Regions from separate parts of the Homo sapiens genome. Here region 2 is linked to region 1. Evidence: promoter capture Hi-C in 16 types of primary human blood cells and fetal thymus (Javierre and others, 2016). All regions are on one chromosome and are shown on one strand. Each heading gives the region's core, a stretch centred on a gene start or on the middle of the fragment in contact. The rest is flanking DNA. Distances are from core to core; before and after follow the strand shown. Region 1 holds the start of LINC02285 (long intergenic non-protein coding RNA 2285). Region 2 holds the start of MIR770 (microRNA 770).

The links. Contacts are between HindIII fragments. The CHiCAGO score rates a contact against its expected background, and 5 or more counts as called.
Region 2: a contact is called between a fragment that was not itself captured here and the fragment with the promoter of LINC02285 in region 1, in 1 of 17 cell types (M1 macrophages). The highest score is 5.5, in M1 macrophages.

Annotation. Positions count from the first base shown.
Region 1 is chr14:101,117,326-101,124,336 of GRCh38, reverse strand. LINC02285 (long intergenic non-protein coding RNA 2285) reads right to left here and starts at 3,481. Exons shown (of 2, transcript NR_146490.1): 1 at 3,193-3,481; 2 at 792-1,448. It overlaps LOC124903386 (a long non-coding RNA gene), which reads left to right and starts at 3,041. Exons shown (of 2, transcript XR_007064341.1): 1 at 3,041-3,309; 2 at 3,573-3,823. The HindIII fragment of the contact is 1,856 bases long and covers 3,469-5,324 here.
Region 2 is chr14:100,851,520-100,858,200 of GRCh38, reverse strand. All of the region lies in intron 9 of MEG3 (maternally expressed 3), which reads right to left. It overlaps MIR770 (microRNA 770), which reads right to left and starts at 5,811; the gene lies at 5,714-5,811. RefSeq lists an enhancer at 2,742-3,243. The HindIII fragment of the contact is 756 bases long and covers 4,869-5,624 here.

The sequences.
Region 1 (7,011 bases), core at 2,232-4,731:
CTGACCCTCTCCACCCTACAGGGACCCCCCAGTTCTCACCAGCCCTCTGGAGTCCCCCAACAGAAACATCTAGGGCAGGGCATCGGGAGGCAAAGTCCAGAGCAGGAGGATAGGAGGCAGCCCAGGGGCTCAGGCACAATAGCATTCAGAGGACGTGAGGCCGGCATAACCTCATTGCCTAGTCACAAGTCACAGGTGGGCTCTGTGGGGCTTTTGTAGACTCTGAGCTCTGTCTGGGCCACAGTCATATCCAAACTCCCCTTGGATCCTGACCTGCAGGCAGCATCTCCAGATCTTAGGACCCCAGTCTGGGAGCCTGCAGAGGAAGACATGAGGTAATAGCGAGGAGGCGGCAGCCAGATGTGTGGGACGGTCAGTGTCATGATGCAGAGGCCCTGGTCAGCAAGGAGCAGGATTGGAAACCCCCTTGGCTCTGCGCATCCTGAAGGGGAAGGCGCCTGGTGCCTCTCTACCCTTCGATGTAACTGACGCTGTGGGGTATAATTATTTTCCTCCCTCGGTGCGAGCTGACACAGGCAGCAGCCCTGCGTGGTAGGAAGATGAGCAATAAAGCATTCTGAAATGAAGGCTCAGTGATCCGGAAGATTTAAAGCACCCTGCGTAGGAAGCAGGCTCGGGCAGCTCAAAGCTGGCTCCAGTGCCGGCCAGAGAGACGTCTTACAGCCCCCTCTTGGGTGATGGCTGTGAGGTATGGAGGGGGAAGCAGGCATCAGCATCCAGATGTTGACTCCTAGAGAGGCCTGAGGGTGGTAGGTGACCTGGGCAAGACATCAGGAGCCTAGGGCTGTTTTATTATTTGTTTCGTAGGGATGTTCAGGATTAAATATTTAAAGACTTTTAAAAATCAAGGCATAACATATGCAATAAAATGCACGCATCTGAAGTGTGCAGCTGGATGCATCTCACAGGCACAGACATGCAGGAAACCTCTATCTCATCACAGAACATTTCCACATCCGAGAGGGTCCCCTCGCCCCTCCAGTCAACAACCCCAGAAACAGCAGCAATGAAGCTGTTGGCATAGATGGTTCTTGCCTGGTTCTGGGCAGATAGAAACGGCCCCATGCAGCATGTACATGTGCGTGGTTGCCTTCTTTAGCTCAGCAGTAGGTCTGTGAGATCCACCTGTGTTGTGGCATGCCAACAGCTCTTTCCTTTTCCTTGCTGTGTAGAATTCTTTGCATGAATATAATGGGATTTACTGCACATGTTACAGTGAATGGGCCTGGGCTCCCAGCCTCCTGGTCCCCACCAAAGGCAAGCTTCTTCCTCTCCCATCTGCTTCCCATTCTCCTGCTGACCGCAGTCTCTGTCCATCCTCCCAAGCTCTCAGAATCTGAGGCTCACGGTGTCAAGAGTGGAGGAATCAAGCCGATCGGGCTGGCTCTCCACCCAGACTGGGGGACTCCTCACTGAAGGGCCTCCACCTGGAAGATCAGGGCATGAGAGCTTCAGAGAGAGGCCAGGGGTGCTGACAGGTGAGCAGCCCTGGAGGCCTCCTGAGGACAGGCCCACCCCGTCCCAGTGCTGGCCTTGATCTATCTAGGGCCCAGTCCCACCGCAGGCTCCCTTGGGCCCTTCCAGGGTCTCGGGGAGGAAAGCCCTGGAATGACCTCTCATCATCTCTCATCCTATTCCAGAGATTTCTGGATAACACTTGTGCTTGAGAGGCCGAGCTCATGGGATCCCAAGGAGGCAGAGCTGCTAGAGGGGCCACCTGAGTTCTCCAGTCCTGGGAACACCCCACTTCGCTCTGAACCAACAAAGGCCTCCGCTCTCCCATTCCGAGGTCGTGTCCTGGGATCGCTGTGTTGAGTAATTACTTACTGGAAGCCGTCCCTCCCTCAGGTGGTGGGTGGGCCGTGTGCGCGCAAGTTCGAATTGTGTGTCCACAGAGGGAATATTCATGAACTCAGTGGCGGGGGTGGGGGTGTTTTGGAAGACAGACTTGGATTTCTGAGGGAGAAGATACTTACAAGGCCTTGGTGGCCAGCCAGGTTCCCCCTCAGCCTCTCGGGCAAGGACCCCAGGAGGCCACACATCGGGGGAGGCCTGGAGGCCCTGGGGCCAAGTATTTGGTTCCTGTCGATGAACAATTTAATGAGAGTTTTCAGAAGGGCCAGACAGCCCTGGGATGAATGGCTGATCCCAAAATAGCCTCAGCTGGCACTTGGGCAGCTTAAAAGAGGCTTAAAAACAGAAAGAACCTTCAAAGAAGGGTGCCCGGGTGCCCCTGAAGCACTCTCATGCGGAGGCCTGGGGTTCTGCTCCCCAGGGACGCTGCCCTGCCCCACTCTGCCCTGAGCAGCCGGGCACAGATGCACTCTGTCACATCCCGTCCTGGCAGAGGCCAGAAGGGGCTTGGCAGAAGGAGCCTTAGGTGAGCACCGTTCCCACCCAAAATGCCTGCCCTCCAGTCCGCCACGGTCGGCCCAAGCTCCCATACCACTGCCCATGTTGGAAAAGCCCCTCTTGGCAGCCCCTATCCCCCAGCAGGCAAGAGTGGTCCTGAGCCTGGAAGGAATGTTCTAGATGGGAAGAATTGTCTCCTACTCTCGGTGGGGTGCCCCGGACCAGCTACAAATGGTGAGGAAGACTTGACTCAAGAGTATTACAGCAGGGACAGAGATGGACTCAGTTCTGAACACAGTGGGGACACCTGGGGATTGACAGCCCATGGGCAAAGGGAGGGGCTGTGGATGGAAAATGATGACGTGGAATTCAATCATTTGTCAAGGGGAGGGGATTCTCAATCAGCTCACTTAGGATTCTCTGCTAAAATTGAGTTCAGCAGGCCGTGGTGGAGTCTCGTGGAGAAGAGCTCAGAGAGAAGGGCCCAACTGAAGGGCAGCCAGGGAGGGATCCCTGTTCAGCCACACGGAGGGCCCCTTGTCCTGAACTTCCTCTCGGATTCACTGCTCGCTTCAGCCCAGTTGCCCTCGTTGGCTCCCCTAGCACAGCTGACGTAGCCCTGAGACTTCCTCAAACCCGTTTAAAAGCTGGGGGACAAAGGGGAAGGAAACGCAGTGAGCACACCAGCAGGCTTCTGTCCCCAGCCAGGGCCCGTTCCTCTGGGTGGCCCTGGCTCGGGCCTCCGGTGGAGCCTCCTGCTCTGCGGATCTTCTGGTTTCTCATCTGCCCTCCCCTGAGCCCTGGGAGGACGGCGCTCACCGACACACTGGAGCTGCGCAGTTTCAGGCCACTGTTCCCAGACTTGCACTGACTCCATGATGATCAACTCTGCCCAGGAAGTTGTCTCAGAGGGTCACCAGGAAGTGCACGGTCCAGGTGGGCATTGGGTCATCCCAGCCCCAGAAAGGCTTCAGCATCAGAGGGCTGCAAAAATCTGTGTCCCCTGGCCCCCACGGGACACAGTTCTGCAGATACAGGGCTTCCCAGCAGGGCCCCAGTTCCAGCCCTCCTTGCTTCCAGGCACAGGCACAAGCTTCTTCTCAAAAAGACTGTGAGTGGAAGGGAAGTGGGCCACTTCCGGGCTGAGGTTTCTGAGATAGGGCTGGGCCATCCCCCTGGCCACTTTCCTTCTTTGCCAGCTGCACACAGAGGGCTCTGACTCTCCCTGAACAGCAGAGCCACAGGGGTCCCTGAGTCAGCCAGGAAGAGGGCCACCTGCCCACCAGAAGCACCACATGGAGCTGTTCAGGAAGCAAGAATTAACGGTGTTACATGAAGCCACTGAAATGCGGAGGTTTTGCTTGTTAGATGCTATTATAAGTTCCCTAATATGGCATGTTATAAATCATCTCTGGCTGCCTCTGAATACAGTGTGTTTTCTAAACCAAAAGTCGCAGAGTTTATTCCCGCCTTCTTTAAACCTCCGCAGTGCATGGCTTTCCCTCCTGGATGTCACGCACCTGCCGGTCCCCTGAGCTTTGAGTACTGTCTCCCTGAGCCGCACGGGATGGTCACGCAGGGTCAGGGCCCGTCTGGCCATCGCTGTGTTCTTGGGCCCAGCACAGGCTGTCCCCCGGTGGCTGTTTAGAAGAGGGGCAGGGCTAATAGATCCTAATTGTCTCTGCCATGCTCCTCCTGTCTGTTCTGGGATCAGTGGACGCCTCGTTCCTCTTGTTTTTCATTCGTGGGACTTTCATGGGAAGCTATTTCCCTGACGGCTGTTTGCACTGATTTTTCTGAGACGAGCAACATCCTTTGCTTCTTTTCCTCTAATCATCTGGAAATGCTGTGTCTCTTGGCATCGCTGTCTTGCCTGTCTTCCACCCACCAGCTGTCCAGCTCAGAGCACTCTCAAGAGAGTTAGCTCTGGAAGAAGGACACAACCCCCTTCAGAAGGTTCTGAAATGTAGAATGCTGCCTCTCCCTGGGGCTGGGGAGTTAAGGGAAAGCACGGTGTGGGAGGGAGAAAAGCAGGACTCACCTCTGCAACCCGAGGCTGCCTGCCGAGCAGGACAGGAAAGCAGGAGGTGGGGGGAGGAGGAGAAAGACTCCTTTGGGGGCAGGAGCCTGAGTTCATATCCCGCTCAACCACGGGCTCGCAGATCCCCAAACTAGAGGAGATCCGAGGTGCAGGAAGAATGAATACCCAGTGCTTGCTCCCCTTTCAGGCAAAAGAATCATTCTGTTCATTTGACAGATGAGAAAACTGAGGCCGAGGGAGTTCAGGTAATTGGGAAACTAAGACTCAGCCGGGAAAGTGATCTGGTCAGGACACACGTGGAGTGGTACACGATGGATGCAAACCCTAGCTCCTCCGACTGCCCAGCTCTGCCCCTGACCACACCTTCATGGTGTCCATGGATATGTTCGAGAAGGATGGCAGCCCTGGCCTCCTGCCTTGGAGCTGGCCCCTCCCGGCGATCCAGCCCTCATCTCTAAGAAGGGAAAGCCCAGCCCCGTCACATCCTGGCCACGCCCGACTGTCTTCACGCTCCTGGGGCTCGCTCTTGGCTCCCAGACACCCCATGTTCACTGTGCCCCCCGGGCCTGGTCTTTGTCTAGGGCCTCCTCCCTCCTTGCTCAAGCTGATTAAAGCTGATCTCTGTTCCAAGCAATTAAACTCCAACCTGAGACCCTGCCCCTGGTACCGCCCAGGGCTGCTGTTGGCTCCACGGAGACAGCGTCTTTCTTTGCACAGCTGTACATGCGGAAGGGATGGGCTCGTTCGGAGTCAAGATGGGGTCATTTGGGACAGTTCTGGACTGGGCCAAGGTCAGGAGACCTTTCCACCATTGCAGTTTCCTTCTAGTGTATAAGATACACAAACAGCAACACATCTGCCTCTAAAGCAGGGGAAAAAGAACAAGAAAAGCAAACTCCTTCTTAAAGCTTATTAGGAAGACAACACGTCATGTTAATTCTTTTAGTGGAGTGATGATGCGGGGAGAAACAACACTGCAAGTCCTCAGGGACTCTCCCCCACGTGCTCATGGAGACACTCAACTCTGTTCCAAAGAACAAAGTTGAAATAGTTTGTAGGCGAGAACTTGATGAAAATTTGACATTTGATAAGAAACTAATTTTGGTGTGCCTTTTTAATACCTTAAAACACTATAGTAATAAACAACATCTATAAATGTCAAACTTTTCTATTTTGATTATGTTGCTTTGATTTTTATCAACTTTTTTTTATTAAAAATCCACTGTAAATGAAATAGAGAAGGGAAGATCGGCACAAAAAGATAAATTTTACAGTTTATCAAGATGTAAGCGACAGCATCTCATTTTTTTCAGCACTGGGATTATTATTTTTTGTCTCACTGTGGTTATTATGATGTTTTTATCTTTGTCTTCGAGTCTAGGAAACTTGCAGAGCTATGGGAACTGGGATTAAATTGCAGAGTGAAGGCGGCTTTCGCCTCAGCAGAGCAGAAAGATGCCAAGGTGGGCCAGGGATGGGGGAGGAGGGACATGCTCAGATTCTCTAGCTCTTTGGGTAGCTGCCAGAAGAGTGGAGTTAACTCTTCTAGGACCATAGCCCTTCCCTGGCTAGTGCTAAAGTTCCTCTCTGAACCCCTGTGGGTTCCCCCACACCCACTCCCCATTCTGAAGTTTCACATTTAGTTGAGGCCTATGTCCTATGGCTGTCCAGGCTCCAGTGGGGGATGGATCTAAGTCTGGGTTCCCTGTGCCAAACATGAAGGCAGTGTTTGTGAGTGCTGGAAGGAGAGATGGAGGGAGGTGGATAAATGGGGAGATGAATGGATGGATGGATGGGCATAAGGATGTATGGAAAAGTGGATTGACAGATGGAGGAATATATAGATATATGGAAGGAGAAAAGGATGAATGGAATGACAGAGGGAGAAAGAAGCAGATGAATGGGTGGGTGGATGGATGGACACATGGAGAGATGGATGGATGGGTGGATGGATGGATGGATGGATGGATGGATGGATGGACGAATAGAAAAGTGGATGGAAGGATGGGAGAATATACAGATATATGGAAGGAAAATGGATGAATGGAATGATGGAGGGAGAAAGAAGCAAATGAATGGGTGGGTGGATGGATGGACACATGGAGAGATGGATGGATAGGTGCATGGATGGATGGATGGATGGATGCATGGATGGGTGGATGAATGAATGGATGGATGGGTGGAAAAGTGGATGGATGGATGGATGGATGGTTGGATGGATGGATGGATGGATGGATGGAAGAATACGTAGATATATGGAAGGAAAATGGATGAATGGAATGATGGAAGGGAGAGAGAAGCAGATGAATGGGTGAGTGGATGGATGGACACATGGAGAGTTGGATGGATGGATGATGGACAGATGGATGGATGATGGACACATGGGTGGATGAACGAATGGATGGGTGATTATATGAATGCAGGGAGGTATGCATGAAGATAGGGAGAAAGGGGGAGGGTGGGAGAGCAGGCCTGTTCACTGGCTGGCAATTTTAGAACCACAACCTGTCAAGGCTTTAGTTCAGGCTTAATAACCTCCCCAGATCCTTCTGGCTCTGAATATTTTCAGTCCTCCAAAGTCAAGCTCAAAATAAAAG
Region 2 (6,681 bases), core at 3,997-6,496, 270 kb after region 1:
CCAGGCTGCATTTGCTGGGGGCTGGCAGGGGTGAGCCGGACCAGGCAGGAGGCCTTATTTGGTGGACTCAAAAATGCACAGGTTGTTTGTGCAAGACTGGGAAGTCCTGGCTCTGATACCAGCTGTCCTGATTCTCAGCAAGCTCATCTAGGAAATGGGCCCACACCCCAGTTAGAGAAGGGAAAGTGTGTACAAGACCCCCGAGCTTGGTGCCAGGCCCAGGGAAGGTGGCAAAGCCTACCTTCTGCACCTTCTACCAGAGACAGAAAAGGGCTGTGAGGAAATTCAGAGCGCAGGATGGAAGCAGGGTTGGTACCCCAAGGATGCCACCCAGAACCCCTTCCTCATCCTCTCTCTAGGTCACCCCACTCCTTCTCCCTAACAAACGAAAGCAGGGGCATACATGAATGTTTGCAGAAACCCCTCCGGGCAGACAGATCGTCCCCTCACGGCAGCGACAGGTACAGCAAACCCCAAAGCACAACGGCCCTGCCAGCTACAACCCGCTGGGGAGAAGCAGCAGCCCACGTTGGAATGGGGGGCAGGGCAAACTCTGAGGAAGGAAAAAGCCATCACTCATCAATCAAACAAATATTTACTCTGGGCCCACATCGCTAAGCACCTGCAGGCTGCTCTGCCAGTGGTCTGCACATGCCACTGACTGTGGGAAATGCAATCCCAGCGTAAGGTCAGGGCTGACTTTTTATTCACTTAGGACTAGTAAAGCCATCACTCATGCTTTCAAGACAAATCCCAACATATGCCCATTCCCAGGGAAAGCCAGCATCTGCACACTGTTGAAACACACCCACCCTCGGCCCTCACAACAGCCCTGTGAGGTAGGCTTTCAGGTGACCTATGGCTTAGAGAAAAGGAGATTGAGGGTCAAAGAGGCAAAGGGTTAATTAAGTGGCCCCTGGGTCTGCCAGATCCTAAGGCTACGCGCTTTCTAACATAAAACACAGATTCGCATCAGACAGCTCAAGTTCCATCAACATGACGCCGAAACAAGGCTCCTGCTCTTCAAACGTGGCATACAAACGTCCGTAAGATACAATATGGTGGTTGTTAACAGGTCCATGAAGAGCAAAATAATAATCTCTTAGTAAAGGTTATAAACATCAAGGCTTGTCATTGGTTACAATTTCATTAGCTATCCATCCATTCAACAGAAAAGAAACGTAAGCGCTACCACTCGCCAGGCACTGTGTTGGGCACCCAGCCTGCTGCATTTGAGCCCAAATGTTGTCAGTTGGGGGGAGGGGTGGGGGAGGCAACAATGCAGTATCTTTGATGGCTGGTGCCTAATATTTTGGGGAAAAGGACGCCACCCAGAAGGGCCTTTTGAAGGCGGACACAAGTAGGTGCTGCACACAGGCCAGGCACAGAGGCAGGAAGCACACAGCATTCAGAAAGCACAGCCAGGCGTTTCCAGCCTCTCAGAGGTGAGCGTGAACGCGTACCCCCGGGGGGTCCAGGGGCATTGTCCAGCGAGTCCCCCAAACCCCTAGCATGAAAGTTCCTGCCCAAATTCCTCCTGTCCCACCATATACCCCTCCAGGTTTAGAGATAAATGCTCTCCCACTCAGCTGCCTGAGTGAGGCTGTCTCCCTGGCCTTTTCTCCTCACTCCCCTGGCACACCCCCGGGGACACGCACACCGCCCTTCCAGAATCACAGTTCAAAATCACGGTTACATTGCTCCTCACAACAGCCCTGCGAGGTAGGTGCCGCAGTCCTCCCCCGTAGGCAGACTCAACTCCAGCTCTCACAGTGACTTTAAACCACACGAGTTTGTCCAGTTCCAGGGTCTTGGCTTTGCCTACTCTCCTTCCTCTCCAATGCAATGAATGACATTCAGAATTCCAGGTTGAACCCCCAAGACCTATGCCTCACCCCCGACCCAGGCAGCAGGAACTCAGGGAGTTCTCACCTGGTCTGGGACCTGCAGGACAGCTCGGAGCTGCACCCAGAGTTTGCAAAATGCCACGTGCCTTGGACACCCAGGTTTGCCTATGGAGTGTTCTATGCAGACCCCTGCACGGGAGGTGATTCTTATCACCCACATGAGCAATCATCTCCCCCAATTTTCTCTAAACAGAGCTGGGCATTAACTCCTCTTGAAAGGGGCAGGAATGGCTCCAAGATCACCTCCAGGAAAGGCCAGAGTGTTCTAATGACTTGAAAACCTGCTCCCGGCCAGAAGCAGCCACTCATCTTGGAACCCCCTGGCTCTCATTTTGGCCTCTCGAGGATATGGGCTGTGATTTCTGAGCACCCAGGGAACACAGTTGGCTGATTCCTAATCAACCTAGTTGTACAGGGGACAAAGTCAGAGGGGCAATCAAACTCGCAACAGAACTCGAATCTACAAGCCTGACCTGACTCAGGGATCTCGCCTTGTCACCGACACACAAGCACGGCCCCTTTACCAACGTGTTCATTGTTTTGTTTCAAAAGGCAATGCGGCAGCGGGTCCTTGGGAGCCAGCTCTAGTATAGCACTGGCTAATTTTTTAAAAACGTCTGTTGGCTGTGAGTGAATGAATGAAGGGATGAAGGGATGAATGGATGAGTTACAACCACTGCCACCCTGTGGAGGAAGCTGAAAGGCTGAAAGCAAAGCTCATGGGAGGGACCATGCGCCAGGCAAGGTGAGGCCTGGGGAGGACTTCTCCGCTCATGGGTGGGAGGGCTTGGCCCCAGGCTACTCTTGACCCCGACCCTGGGTCACAGTCGTGGTGTGTGACACATGGAAAGCACCATGGGGAAGAAGCTATGGGTGACAGTGGCAGACGAGATCCAGCTGGGACGTGCTCAGGGCAGTAACCCCGGAGGAGGCAGCTACAAGAAAGGGTGTTTGCTTCATAACCACAGCCCATGGCGCTACACAGCCCACCCAAAATGAAAGGGTTTGCTTTCAGGAGAAGAAAAGGCCAAAAGCACGGGGTCAAGATAAGTAGGCCAAATGCATGGATGGGTAGATGGAGCAATTCATGTTGAAAGTCATTGCCGGCCTCCCAAACTCGGATACCAAGCTAAACATGTGGGTGAGGGATTCTGACACGGGCAAACAGTGCTCAGTGCTATAGTAGAGGGATGGGTGGGCAGAAGCAGCTCTGCTGAGAGCGGAGGATGCTCTGGAAAGAAGGGCGAGCCCTCCTTGGGTGACATGCCCTCCCTAAATGGCTGTGACTGACCTGTGAGCCCTGATGCTTTGGGCAGAACATGCCCTTTATTCCGCTCCTTAGAATGTAATTGCCCCAGGTGAAGAAAAATGAAAGGAGATTCTCCCATCAGTCCTGATCCAAAATGTTCCATTCGTCAGTTAAACCCCAAAGACCACCACTGAGGCCACATGTGCAGGCCAGGGCTGAGGACATTTGCTGACATATCACAGGACGCGGGGAACCCAATTCCCCTAAGAGGTGGGAAAATGGAAACCCCAGGGCCTGGCTTCATCGGGATCTAATAGGAATGAGTGACTGCGCTGGTGGGAAGGCCACTAACTGATTGTACAGGGTGCTAGGATGTGGCTGTCTGGACCTTGGAGGTTCAAAGAGCTATTCCTGTCCCACAGGGGTTTTATCAAGGGCAAGATCGGAGTCCACAAGCACACCCAGGAGGTCCAGCCTGCAGTGTCTACACCTGCCAATGGAAGGTGTCTTTTTCCCCATCACCCACTTCCCAGGGAGAAGCAAATCCTAACATCAAACAGACCTGAAAGGCCACCTAGGCCAACCCCACACCATGAGAATCTCCTAAACACTACTTTCTCTGAGGGCTGCCTGGCTGGTTCCTTGAATGCCTCCAGTGAGCTATGGGCTCCCTACATCCCAAGGACATCTGGGACCAGTCTCTTCAGAAAGCCATGACCCAAAGGACTTGGACAAACAGTTCACAGAAGATAAAATACAATTTGTTAACAAACATAGGTCAAAGTGTTCACCCATCATTAGTAATTAAAGCAATGCAAGTTAAAGTAATGCAAAAGTACTTTATAACAGAGACAAACTAGCCATATCTTAATTAAGTGGTCATACATTGCTGAACATTGTAAAATGCTGTAAGCTTACTGAAATTATTCAACATCCATACAAAGATCCATAGCCTTTCTTTCAAGAGACTTAACCAAAGGAAATTCATTCATTCATTCACCAATCCATCCTTCCGCCTATCCTTCCACCCTCTTATCCATCAGCCAAACACTCACTCACTCGCTCCTTCCTCCATTCTTCCATCCACTCATTCATCATTTATTTATAGTCTACAACATGTTGGGCATCAGAGATACAAAGGCCAATTCAATAAGCTCCTTGCCCTTATGGGGCTCACAGTCTAGCAGGGGAAACTGATCTGTAGTGAAGCAATGATAATTTCTGGGTGGAAGAACATAATTCTTAAGAATGAAAAAAAGGGTGTTTTAAGCAGTTAGTTGTGGCATTATTCATAATATTTTTAAAAGGTGGTTATACATAAGAATAACAGAATGGTTCTGTGAATGATGCCATAGCCACTCAACAAGGCACAACGCAGCAAGTGAGGTTATGAAGATTCATGGAACAAGGGAAAATGTTGATGACAGAAAATTAAATAGAAGAGGCAGGATACAAAAAAAAAAAAGTGTATGTGGTGAATAATGGCAATTAGGTTTTTTTAAAGAAGGGATGCTCATTAAAGAATAGACACTCTTTTTTTAAAAAAAGTATGCCTGTAAGAATGTAAAATGGGTGACATGTCAGAATGTTGAGTGGTGCATGCATTTCCCACTGCTCTAGGTCAAGTGCCATCCACACCATTTATATTAGGAACACAACGGGACACAGCAGGATTCGTGGCCTGTCTATCCCAGAGGTCCTGAGGCCAAGCTTCCCAAGGAGGGAGTTGGGAGTCACAAGAGGAGGCCAAGGAGAGTTGTAGCTCCTGGTGTCACCAGGAAAGGATTTGTGTGTGGGGAGCATGCAAATGACAATGTCAAGAGACAGAATTAATTCTCATTGTTAAAAGTTTAACGAACACATAAAGATAGGCCCTGACCAGACAGGAGCACTAGGATCCCAACTCGGACCTTGTGGGTCTGGTACAGAAAGAACCGGGTAGGGAGCACGTGAAGGATGTTTTATCTCTGGCTTTTGTGCCATTAGGAACCCTATCCCGAATCTCAGCATCCCAGAACTAAAGAACCTTTGAATTACAGATACAAAACTCTTAAGGGTCAAAACCCTAAGAGCCCTGATCCCCCCTCATGGCCTCCACATTTCCAAAAGGACACACAGAATTCATCCAACCCAAACCCACCCAGCCTCCAGGGCACCAGTGGGTCTCCCCAGAGCTGCTCTCATTGGCTCAGTTCGACCCACTGTGACCCGTCAGGACAGCCCCTAGATGTTGGGAGCAGGCTCTCCTAGCAGCCAACGTCGCTTGTTCCTTCCAATTTCCTCTTGGTGCATGCAATGGGCCCTCCCTTCCCCGCCTTCTGCACACTTTAAGTCTTCCTGAGCCTCTGCTGACTTTTTTTAACAGCCGTACATGAGTTCTTTTGAAAGACCCTCCCGGTCTTCTTCTGCCCTGAACCCCTCCCGCCCCATCCTCATCCAACAGTGACACAGCTTGTCAGGGAGAAGCTTCAGCAGGTGTCCCCAGGGATAATAAGTGCACCCCCAGACCTCAGTCCAGCCAAGGCATAGCCTGGAGCCCCAGATTCTGAAAGAGAAGAAGAGCAGACCCCTGAGGCCCCAGCACCACATCAGGCCCACGAGGCCCAGCTCATGTGGCCCTGACACGTGGTACTGGAGGCTCGGAAGGTGGCTCCTGACACATGAATTCCATGTCCTCCGCCTTCCAAATGCTGTTGCCATCCACTCGGCCGGAGCTAGAAGCGTGGGAACCACCCCCTTCTTCTTGCCTCCCTCCCTCCTTCATATCCTGTCTATAACCCCATAGCTTTGATTCCTGAGCACCCCACTTTGCTGCCATCAGCTCAGACCTCAAGCATCACACTAGCTAACAGCCCCATCCATGCCTGCGCCCGCACTCCCCATCCCACCCAGCGTCTACAGAGTCACTCTGAGCATGACGCCTCCCACTCCAGATGGCCTGGCCCCACCCCACTCCCCTGCCTCCCACGTGCTCCCTGCCACAAGTCCTGAGTCCATCCAAGCTGTGCTCCTACTGCTCCGGGCGCTTGTTAAGAATCCAGTGTTTTTATATGTCCCAAATAGGAATTGAGAGGTCAACAAGGGAGACTTTGGTCCTTGCTTTTACAGACAAACACAGGCACACAACACAAAACTACACACATTTCCTCCACTACAGAGAAAGGAGACTCAACAGAACCGGGGAGGCCCTGGGGGAGGACTGTCAGCACGAGCAACTCTCCAGATTTACCCCGGCAGTCCCCCGGAGGGCGAGTCAGAGAAGAGACAACCTCGACACAGCGAAACGCAATCCCGCCAAGTTACAAAACACGTCGTGAAACAGCCGAGAAGACAGAGAGGCCTTGAACCAGGCTCTGGGGATGGCATGTCAAGGAAGCCAGGGTCCCCGGACCACTTCTGCAACCCCAGGGGTGCTGAGGTGCACCTGCTGCCCAGGGAAACCTGAGTTGAGAAGGGTGGGCGCCCTGCCCCATGGAAGACCAGGCCAGAGGGTGGCCTGGGCACACTGCAGAGAGTTGCAAGAAC